Linked DNA regions of Homo sapiens: region 2 is linked to region 1. The links are contacts of gene promoters, found by promoter capture Hi-C in blood cells and fetal thymus (Javierre and others, 2016). All regions are on one chromosome and are shown on one strand. The core of a region is centred on a gene start or on the middle of the fragment in contact, and the rest is flanking DNA. Distances in the headings are between cores, read along the strand shown. Region 1 holds the start of RPS7 (ribosomal protein S7). Region 2 overlaps MYT1L (myelin transcription factor 1 like).

Region 1 (4,899 bases), core at 1,622-4,121:
CAAAAATAAAAATCAAAGATAAATCCAAGCCCATGTCAACTGTGTCTAGCATGCTATATCACAGAATTAAAGTAATGATTTCCTTCTCATCATTCCTATCCTGTGCACAAATAATCGGAGGAAATCATCTCATCTTGTGACAGCACTGACCTAGTAGGCAAACAATGGCTACATGAATACATGTATGTTTTACATCTAGAATTCTAAAACGTATCATGTGCAACTATACAGGAAACCAAATGCTGCTACTCAAAAATTCCCACTTGAACATCTGTTTTCATAAACTACAACTTAAACAAATTAAGAGTTGTTAATAAGAGGGGTACACACATTTCTGAAACTACTAAAATACTCACCTCCTGGGACGCTTTTGCTTATTTTTTGTACGGCTTTTTCGAGTTGGCTTAGGCAGAATTCTCCTCTGTAAGGTAAAAATTATCATGTAACAAAATGAAAAAAGACTTTAAATTGACAAAAAGCTGTAACTGCCATACTGCTTTAAAAGCAAGAAGAATGGCAGGGTAAGTTCAAAGTTCGAGAAGGCTAAACAACTTAGACGAACAATTGACTGAGCAAACCCTTCTATGGAGTTACTTCCTGATTCTTGAATAAATCATTCAGAATCCACAGCCTCTACTAATACGCCAGTGGACAAAATCTCCCAGATACGCCTTTCCCCATGCCTATGACCCAGAATACTACTTTTATTCCAGATCAATCCTGGCACTTCATTCCCCATAGACTTCAGTTTGCACCAATCCCCCATCCGAACTGTAACAGGTTTCTTCTTTTTTTGAGATGGAGTCTCGCTCTGTCGCCCAGGCTGAAGTTCAGTGGCGGGATCTCGGCTCACTGCAAGCTCCACCTCCCGGGTTCACGCGATTCTCCTGCCTCAGCCTCCCGAGTAGCTGGGACTACAGGCGCCCACCACCACGCCCAGCTAATTTTTTGTATTTTTTAGTACAGACGGGGTTTCACCGTGTCAGCCAGGATGGTCTCGATCTCCTGACCTCGTGATCCGCCTGCCTCAGCCTCCCAAAGTGCTGGGATTACAGGAGTGAGCCACAGGGCCCGGCCTGTAACAGGTTTCTTAGTTTGATCATCTATGTAAGCAACCCACTAGACTTGTGGAAATTTAAATATGGGAAATCATTTTCATAACTCAAAACACAGCAGTCTGTCACTTTACAGACTTCTTGTTTCGACTCTTAATTAAAGAACGTACTTTATCTTTCTTTTTAAAACTTATTTTTTCTATTTTTTGTAGACAGGGTCTTACCATGTTGCCCAGGCTGGTCTCTACAGTGATCCACCCGCCTCCACCTCCCCGTGCTGGGATTACAGGCCTAAGCCACGGCGCTCTGCCTGTACTTTATCTTTCTACCCAATTGGATTCATAAAAGGATTGTTTTCATGACTCCAACTACCAATGCAGTCTAAATACAAGCAATTTTAGCAAAATTCACAAACAGAAACGTGCTGCAACAGTAGAACAGATACCTGAGCGATAAAGACGACATGCTTCCCACTGAACTTTTTCTCCAATTCGCGTACTAGCCGGACTTGGATTTTCTGGAAAGATTTCAGTTGAGGAACGGGAACAAAGATTATGATAGCTTTCCGACCACCACCAACTTCAATTTCCTAAAGAAAAAAACAAAAATCCACTGTGTTAACTGCTTCAGAAAGTAAACGTTGTGGTCAAATTAGAGGATAAGAAGACCTTATCACTAACACCGTAGCTGCACTACAAACTAATACTAGTTTTGAGTTAATCATAAATGCATCCTTCGGAAATGTTCTCATCTCTCTCCAACCTTCACATTTCCTTATTCCAGGAAGGGAGACTGTTCAGGCCAGGAGGCCAATCACTACCACTTCTGCACCCCCACTTGCGGCAACTCCGGGCTAAGGGTAGAGAGAATCTCATCCTGAGCTCCCCACAGCTCTTTGCCGTATCTATAACTAAGTAAGGGCAAATAAGGTCCGAAATGGGCCCAGGCCCTCCCTACTCCACGTTTCTCCACCGCCCGCATGTGGACAGCTTAAGCCGCAGGGTACCTGCAACCCCACTCCCCGCACCTGGGCGGTATCACTCCCAAACAACACGGCCGAACCTGAGTTCAGGTTAGGCGGCCAGGCGGCAAGTCATCATCAACCGTAACCCAGGTCCAACCCTCTCAGGCACTGCGCGGGGAGACGCGCCGCAACCTCCCTCCCAGCCGAGGGAGCGCCAGCTTACCTTAGCTGCCGTAATATTCAGCTCCCTGAGCTGAGCCTTGAGGTCCGAGTTCATCTCCAGCTCCAGAAGAGCCTAAGAAGCAACGAACAGCAGGACCGACCCTGAGCGCGCGTCCGAGCACCCCGGGCCCAACACACGCGCGGCCGCCTCCCCTCCCGGGCGGGGCGCCTCCCCCCACCCCAGACCCCAGGGAAACCCTCTCACCTGGGAGATGCCGGACTCGAACTCGTCCGGCTTCTCGCCATTGGGCTTCACGATCTTGGCGCTCGAACTGAACATGGCTTTCTCCTGGGAGAACTGAAGGCACAGCGGTCAGCGTTACGCGGCCCGGGCTGCAGGCGCCGCTGGCTCGCCCTCCCGCCCGCACCCCCCGGCCAGGCCCCGCTCGCCCCGCAGAAGCCATCGGAAAGCACAGGGCGGGTAATCGGCTGTATCCCCACCCTGTGAGCAAGGCTCGCCCCTCCAGGGCCTGACTCCAAAAGGCGTTTTCCTCAACCCAAGAAGAAAAGTTCTGTCGGAGAGCAGGCCGCCAACCTACCTTGCCGAGCGCCGGCTTAGGAAGAGACCCAAATCTCGCGAGAGCACGTCAAAATCCGGCGTCCGAAGGCAAGAGGCGGAAACAGCGCGAGGAGGAGGGCGGAAACCGGAACATCACTGAGAAGCGGTAGGAGGCTAGAGAGTCCCAGGAAGCGGCTCTGGGGACGAGTGTCTTGGTAACGCTTTTCCGCCCTAGGATTCGTACTTTGGTGCCGTTTCCGAGCGTTCCGGTACCGGCTCCCAAGGTTCCCGTCTTCAGTGCAGGTTGCAGGCGGGAACCGGCCTCGTCCCAGCCCTGGGCCTGGGAGAGAGAAGGAGGCCGAAGAAAACCAACTTCGGCAACCTCCGGAGACAGGACGTTTAAAAAAGGCTAACTTGGCTGGGCGCTGAGGCTCACGCCTGTAATCCCAGCACTTTGGGAGGCCGAGGCAGGAGGATCACTTGAGCTCAGGAACCAGCCTGGGCAACATGGCGAGACCCCATGTCTACAAAAAAAAAAAAAAAAAAATTAGCCAGTCATGGTGGTGCGCGCCTGCAGTCCCAGCTACCCCGGAGGCCGACGCGGGAGGATCGCTGGAGCCGAAAGGTCGAGGCTGCCGTGAGCCGAGGTTGCACCACTGCACTCCAGCCTGGGCGACAGCGCAAGACCCTGTCTAAAAATAAATTTAAAAAAAATTGCGAGGCCTTCATTCTATGCTAGTACTGTACTAGGTGCTAATTATTAAGTAAAACCGACTGAACTCTTGCCCTCATGGAGCTTACAGTTCAGTGGAGAAGACATTACCTAAAGCAGTATGACTAAATATATAATGACATATTGTAATAACTTACATAACAGTACAATGAGAGGGTGGGGAGGGATTATTTATGCTTTAAGAAGTCGGGAATCCTGGAACGGAATGACATTAGACTGAGACACGGAAGAGCCGCAGGATCTATTGCTGGGGAAGAGCATTCCAGACAGGGAGGAACTCGTGCCGAATGATCCCGCTGTGGACAGGGAATTTAATCTGAGCTTCGGTTTCCTCTTCTGTCAAATGTCATGCAAGAGTTACTTTCAGCCGTGGTCCAGGCACTGTGAAAAATGCAGAAGCCACACTAGGTGCCCTCTCTCAGGATTCCCAACCACCTTTACCAAGCAGAGATGGTATTCATCCCACATTTTTAATGCTAGATATGCTCCCGCCCGGTGCTTCTCTAATAATGTTTTTTAAAAGGTAAGTGACTGTCTCCTTGGAAAATTAAGGATAACTTGAAGTTTCTTCCAGATAGAAAGTAAACTACAGCTGCGTCTACAATCTCATCTGGGCAGTCGTTCTGAGCCCTTTTGTCGAACTAGGTCCATTTCCTTACTCCACATGCACTTTTCGACCTGGCTTTTATCTCTGCTGCTCTATAAAAGTAGTAATCTAAAAGTTCATCCAGTAAAGCTTTTTCTCTGTGAACCTATCACTTGAGAACAAAAAAAATTAAAGTTATTTCTGGTTTCCAGTCCTTTGTTGAATAGGAGTGGTGAGCAAGGACATCCGTGCCTTGTTCTCCATCTTAGGGGAAAACCATTCAGTCTTTCACCATTAAGTATAATATTAGCTCTAGGATTTTGCAGGTATTTTTAATCAAATTCAGGAAGTTCCCTCTGTTTCTATTTCTGAGAGGTTTTTTTAAAATCATGGGCCGGGCACGGTGGCTCACGCCTGTAATCCCAGCACTTTGGGAGGCCGAGGCGGGTGGATCACGAGGTCAGGAGATCGAGACCATCCTGGCTAACACGGTGAAACCCCGTCTCTACTAAAAATACAAAAAATTAGCTGGGCGAGGTGGCGGGCGCCTGTAGTCCCAGCTACTCGGGAGGCTGAGGCAGGAGAATGGCGTGAACCGCCGGGGGCGGAGCCTGCAGTGAGCCGAGATCGAGCCATTGCACTCCAGCCTGGGTGACAGCGAGACTCCATCTCAAAAAAAATATATAAATAAAAAATAAAATAAAATCATGAATGGATGTTGGAGTATGTCAAATGCATTGTTTCTATGAACTAATATGATTATGTGAGTTTTTCTTTTTAGCTGTTAATGTGCTGTTAATATACATAAATGCTTTTCCTTTCTAACTCTTTAGCTTTGAG
Region 2 (5,305 bases), core at 652-3,151, 1.5 Mb after region 1:
CAAGGAGCTTCCGCCTGGCTGCTGTTATTTTTGTTTTGCAGCTAAGCTGCCTGCTAAACATGCCGTTTAAGAGTTCATCCTGGGAATTCCATTACCAGTGATCACAAGCAGCATCTGTGACAGGGAACTGTGAGCAGCCAGAACCGTGGGTGCATATTCCTTCCTACCGCACCTGAAGAACTGGGAAAAGGAGGTCACTGACTCACTCACTCCTTACCTAATTGTTCTGTGAATCTTTACCTAGTGAGGACCTATTGTTAAAAGCACACTGTAGTTGGATGGATGGATGGATGGACGGATGGATGTGCACACACATTTAGTAAGCAGCAGCATCATATACCCTGCAAGGGCATTTAGCCTATAGTTCATTTGTCAGTGGCTTTTAAATCTACATCTCATAAATTACTCCCAGACGGGAATGCATCTTGGAACAAAGGTAGTCTCACCTCCAGCAATTACTCTAACTCCCCTTCCTCCAAGAGGGGTTCTCATGTTTGTGAGGGTGTGTCCTCACGCCTGGAGAGCCTGAGGGACCCAGGAAAGGAGCCAGGAGCACCCAAACTGGAGTATTTGGACAAGCAGCCCTGATGAGAGGCTGAAGGTGCTTTGCTGTTTCACCTGGGAATGGGAAGGGCACTCCTGACTCCATGATTTGTGAATGTGCGCCTGGAGAACAGAGCACGCTCCAAATAAAACCTTTCATTTTGTCCACAAAATTCTGTTTTGTAGATACTTATCACTTTAATGAAAAACCTGTCCCTCTCCTGACAATGATCAGTCATATCTGCCGTTGAGGCACTGGGACTGCGGCTGCTCCCACAGGAATGGCCTGATGGTCTCCAGGTCTTCCTCCTTGTTACCTTTTGTGAACACTGAAGAATAGAAAAAACACTTTTCCCAAAACAACGATGGACAACACGATGAATCTATAGAACATGCTAACAAGCTTAAAGTGATAGAGATGAATTTTTAGGATTACCAGTAGAGTAAGTCATTGTGTAAATTAACGTAATAATATTTTATGAAAGCAAAATATTATGATTGTTTTAAGCATAGTACTGGCAATATATTAGAGTGGCTTTGATTATTAATGTCCAATCCTACTATTTCTCAATCACTTGTTTTGCTTTATGTTGGTTTGTTTATAAGATTTATTTAAATTTGTCTATTTTTTGTCTTTCAAATGGTGAGAATTAACTTGCATTTTTATAAAACCACTATGTCGAATACCATTCCAACCTTTCTTAGTCAATTTAGTAAGTAATAGCTCAGAATGTGTTGGAAATAACTGTGCCTACTATATAAACATTAATCACAGAAGTTTATGCATAAGCCCCATTTTAAACACTATTTGGATGTTGCTTTATAGCTATAACAAATAAAAAATTTTAAATTATTACCCAAGATGTTGCATTTTGTTTTGCTTTTTAATTAATAACATGCTCTTGTAAAATCTTTTATGTGGAAATCACAACTTATTTGCTATCCTTTGAACTGAGAAGGACAAAAATACAAACACACATGACAACCCGCTGATGATATAAGCTATGAAATACATGTGCAGATACATCCCGTATGCTTCTGTAATTTGTTTCTACACATTTTGTAGTCTTAATACTTTGTAGACTCAATCATAAAAATGACTCTTTCCCTTAGTTTTATAAGAATATAGTTTTGTGTATTTTTTATATTACAAAGAGTAATTTCATTAATTTTCTTAAAAGGTTTTTCTATAAGGAATGATTTATTGGAAATTAATTGGGTGTGATACGAGGTTGTTGTCACCACCATCCCTCTCATCTTATCTCCATGCATCTCATCATCTCTTGTGTCTCATCTCCATGCATCTCATTTCCATGTATCTCATCTCCATGTGTTCATAATCTCCATGCATCTCACCATCTCCATGTGTCTCATCTTCATGCTTCTCACCTCCATGCACCTCATCTCCATACCTCTCATCATCTCTGTGTGTTCCATCTCCATGTGTCTCATCATCTCTTGTGTCTCATCTTCATGCATCTCATTTCCATGTATCTCATCTCCATGTGCTCATGATGTGTCTTGTCATCTCCATACATCTCATCATATCCATGTGTCTCATCATCTTTATGCTTCTCACCTCCATGCACCTCATCTCCGTATCTCTCATCATCTCTGTGTGTTCCATCTCCATGTGTCTTATCATCTCTTGTGTCTCATCTCCATGTGTCTCATCTCCGTGTGTTTCATCTGCATCTGTCTCATCTCCACGTGTCTTATCATCCCCATGGATCTCATCTCTGTGTCTCATTATCTCCATGTGTCTCCATATGTCTCATCATCCCCATGCGTCTCTATGATCTCACCTCTGAGTGTTTCATCTCCATGTGCTTCATCATCCCCATGTGTCTTATGGTCTCTGTGTATTTCATCTCCATGTGTCTCATCTCCTAGTGTTTCATGTCCATGCATCTCATCATCTCCATGTGTCTCATCTCCATTTGTGTCATCATCCCCATGCATCTCATCTCTGTATGTCTCATCATCTCCATGTGTCTGTGCACCCAGCGTGGCCTCATTGCCTACTTGCAGCAGATGCATTAAAGACCTGACAATCACGTCCCTCAAGTAGAGTTTTGCTTTTACTGTGAATATCAGCCTCATTATTCTGCCTTTTTGTTCTTCTCTAGAGTGGCCACATCTGGTGGAAGAAGAAAAAAATGTAGTTATTGAATTCAATCAAGTGTTTGCATCTTTCAAGCTATCAACAAAATTCCATCAAGAAAGGTTCCAGTTGGTCTCACAGACGTATGGATATCCGAGGAGCCACCTAAAGGTGAGGAACTCTATGTGGTATTAATATTTTAAGCTTTACATGCAGACAGGTGTTTTGCATATTTACCTTAAAATATGTTACTTTGAAAAGGCATAAATATAGGTTTGTGAATGAAGCAGCATTTTATTTGATAAAGAATACAACACCTCTTGCTTTTAATAAACAATTCAATATAAAGTCAGAATGTGTAATCTCTTGGTAAACATAGACTCAAGTAGCCTTCTGTTATCTAGTTATAACATCACCCAAAAGAAGAATTGATAAGCATACTAATAGGCCTGGTTCACCTTTCAGCAGTCATAGAGAAGCTCCCTTGTACAAAGCCCCTTTAAAATCAGATCCCTGTGTCCATTATTAGTTCTATTTTGGGATATTTTATATTTGAGGAAATTAAGAAGGTCATTAATTAGGGCCTGTTTTGCATTGCCTAGGGTTCCTGTAGGTTTCTGTCAGTTACTGTTGACAAACGTCCCTTGCTGCCACTGTGGGCTCTGGGAGTCATGCTTCTTGAAAAACTTCAGGTTATGGCCTTTTGTTTTCAAAATAATTGTAAAATACATATAACATGAAATTTACCATTTTTACAGTTTTCAAATGTGCAATTAGTGATATCAAGTGTATTCACATAGTGGTGCAATGGTCACCACCTGCCGTCTTCAGAACTTTTTCGTTCCCTAACTGAAACCCTGTCCCCGTTAAACACTACCTCCCCAGGCCTCCCCCACACTCTCTGGGTCCCAGCATTCTGCTTTCTCTCTCTGTGAATATGACCACTAGTCTTACCTCATGTGAGTGGCATTGTACGGTATCTGTTCTTTTGTGACTGCTCTCTTTCACTTAGCATAATGCCCTCAACATCCAGCCATGTCGTAGAATGGGTCAGAGCATCCTTCCTTTCTAAGGCTGAATAATAGTCCACTGTACATCTGTCAGTGGACACGTGTGCTGCCTCCACCTTTCAGCTACTGTGAATTATGCTCCTATTAGCTTGAGTGTAGAAATATATATCTGAGTCCCTGATTTCACATTTCCTGAGCATCAACCCAGAAGTGGAATTGCTGGATCATGTAGATCATATTTTATTTTTAATTTGTTCAGGAAATGCCACTCTTTTCAATAGTGGCTGCACCATAAAGTGGTGCATTATCGCCACAGTTCACAAGGATTCCAATTTCTCCATATCCAGGCCAACACTTAACTCTTTCCTGTGGTTTTCTTTTTTAAAAATAATAGATATCCTGATGGATGTGAAGTGGCATCCTATTGTGGTTTTGATTTGCATTTCCCTCATTATTAGTGGTGTTAAGCATCTTTCCATGTGTTTATGGGACATTTGCATGTCTTCTTTGGAGAAATGTCTAAGTCCTTTGCCTTAATCAGTTATTTGTTTTTGAGTTGTAGGAATTCTTATATATTATAGATATTAGCTCCTTATCATATATATGATTTGCAAATATCTTCTGCTGTTTCATGGGTTGCCTTTCACTTTGTTGGTAGTGTCCCTTGACACACAAACATTTCGTTGTTTTAAGTTTTGATGTTGCCCAATTTAGACATTTTTTTAACCTATACTTTGGGTATCATATCCAATCAATCATTGCCAAATCCAATGTCAGGAAGCTGATCCTTCCTATTTTCTTCTAAGAGTTTTATAGCTTTAGCCTCTGTGTTTAAGTTGCTAACCCATTTGGAGTTAATTTTTCTTTTTACAGGTTTAAGGTAATGTTATAACTTTATTCTTTTGCATGTGGGTATACTCTGTGTGTTGAAAAGACTGTCCTTGCTCCAATAAATGGTTATGGCACCCTTGTCAAAAATCATTTGACCGTATATGCAAGAATTTATTTCTGGGTTCTCTATTCTGTTCTACTGGTCTGTTTCTCTGTCTTTATGCCAGTACCACACTATTTTGATTACAGTAGCTTTGTTGTAAGTTTTCAAATCAGAAAGTATGAAATTTCTAACTATGTTCTTTTTCAATATAGTTTTGGCTATTTGGGGATCTCTTAACATTTACGAATCTTGCAATATATTTATTTTTGAAAAAAAAATGACCTTAAGATTTTGAGAGGGATTGCACTGAATTTGTAGATCATATGGCTAAGTTTCTTAATGAGACAGAAACAGGGTTTCTTATATTTTCTGGTAATGAATTTCTATATGCAATTTAAGCGTGTACCATGACCTTATTTCTGTTTGGAAAGAAAAAGTTCAGATTTTTACCTAGTTTTTCTGACCCTGGTATGATTAGTAATGAGCAATTACATAAGAATATCAAATATAAAGTTTTCTAAAATCTTCCCCAAAGATGAAGATGTTGTGTCTGTTTAGTTTCTTAAAAACTCAGCTTTGTTTTTAAGGCTTAATTCTCTAGCAGTAATTTTGAAGGCTTTGTTCTCTAGTAGTAATTTCTTAGGTAGAAAGTCAACAATGGCATGGGATGTTCCACCTAATCTCAGTGATTGAAGATACGCTGGTGTCCAGCGG

The links. The method cuts DNA at HindIII sites, captures the fragments that hold promoters and counts their contacts. A CHiCAGO score of 5 or more calls a contact.
Region 2: a contact is called between a fragment that was not itself captured here and the fragment with the promoter of RPS7 in region 1, in 2 of 17 cell types (naive CD4 T cells and naive CD8 T cells). The highest score is 10.0, in naive CD4 T cells.

What each region holds. Positions count from the first base shown.
Region 1 is chr2:3,573,232-3,578,130 of GRCh38, reverse strand. RPS7 (ribosomal protein S7) reads right to left here and starts at 2,871. Exons shown (of 7, transcript NM_001011.4): 1 at 2,781-2,871; 2 at 2,447-2,539; 3 at 2,243-2,314; 4 at 1,501-1,644; 5 at 357-421. The coding sequence starts at 2,521. It overlaps LOC124907726 (a long non-coding RNA gene), which reads left to right and starts at 3,022. Exons shown (of 2, transcript XR_007086196.1): 1 at 3,022-3,996. RefSeq lists a silencer at 2,325-2,614 and enhancers at 2,166-2,742, 2,743-3,318. The HindIII fragment of the contact is 5,628 bases long and covers 1-4,211 here.
Region 2 is chr2:2,051,491-2,056,795 of GRCh38, reverse strand. MYT1L (myelin transcription factor 1 like) reads left to right here. Exons shown (of 25, transcript NM_001303052.2): 4 at 2,673-2,818. Among named protein-coding and RNA genes, the nearest start is that of MYT1L-AS1, 270 kb to the left of the region's middle. The HindIII fragment of the contact is 1,905 bases long and covers 949-2,853 here.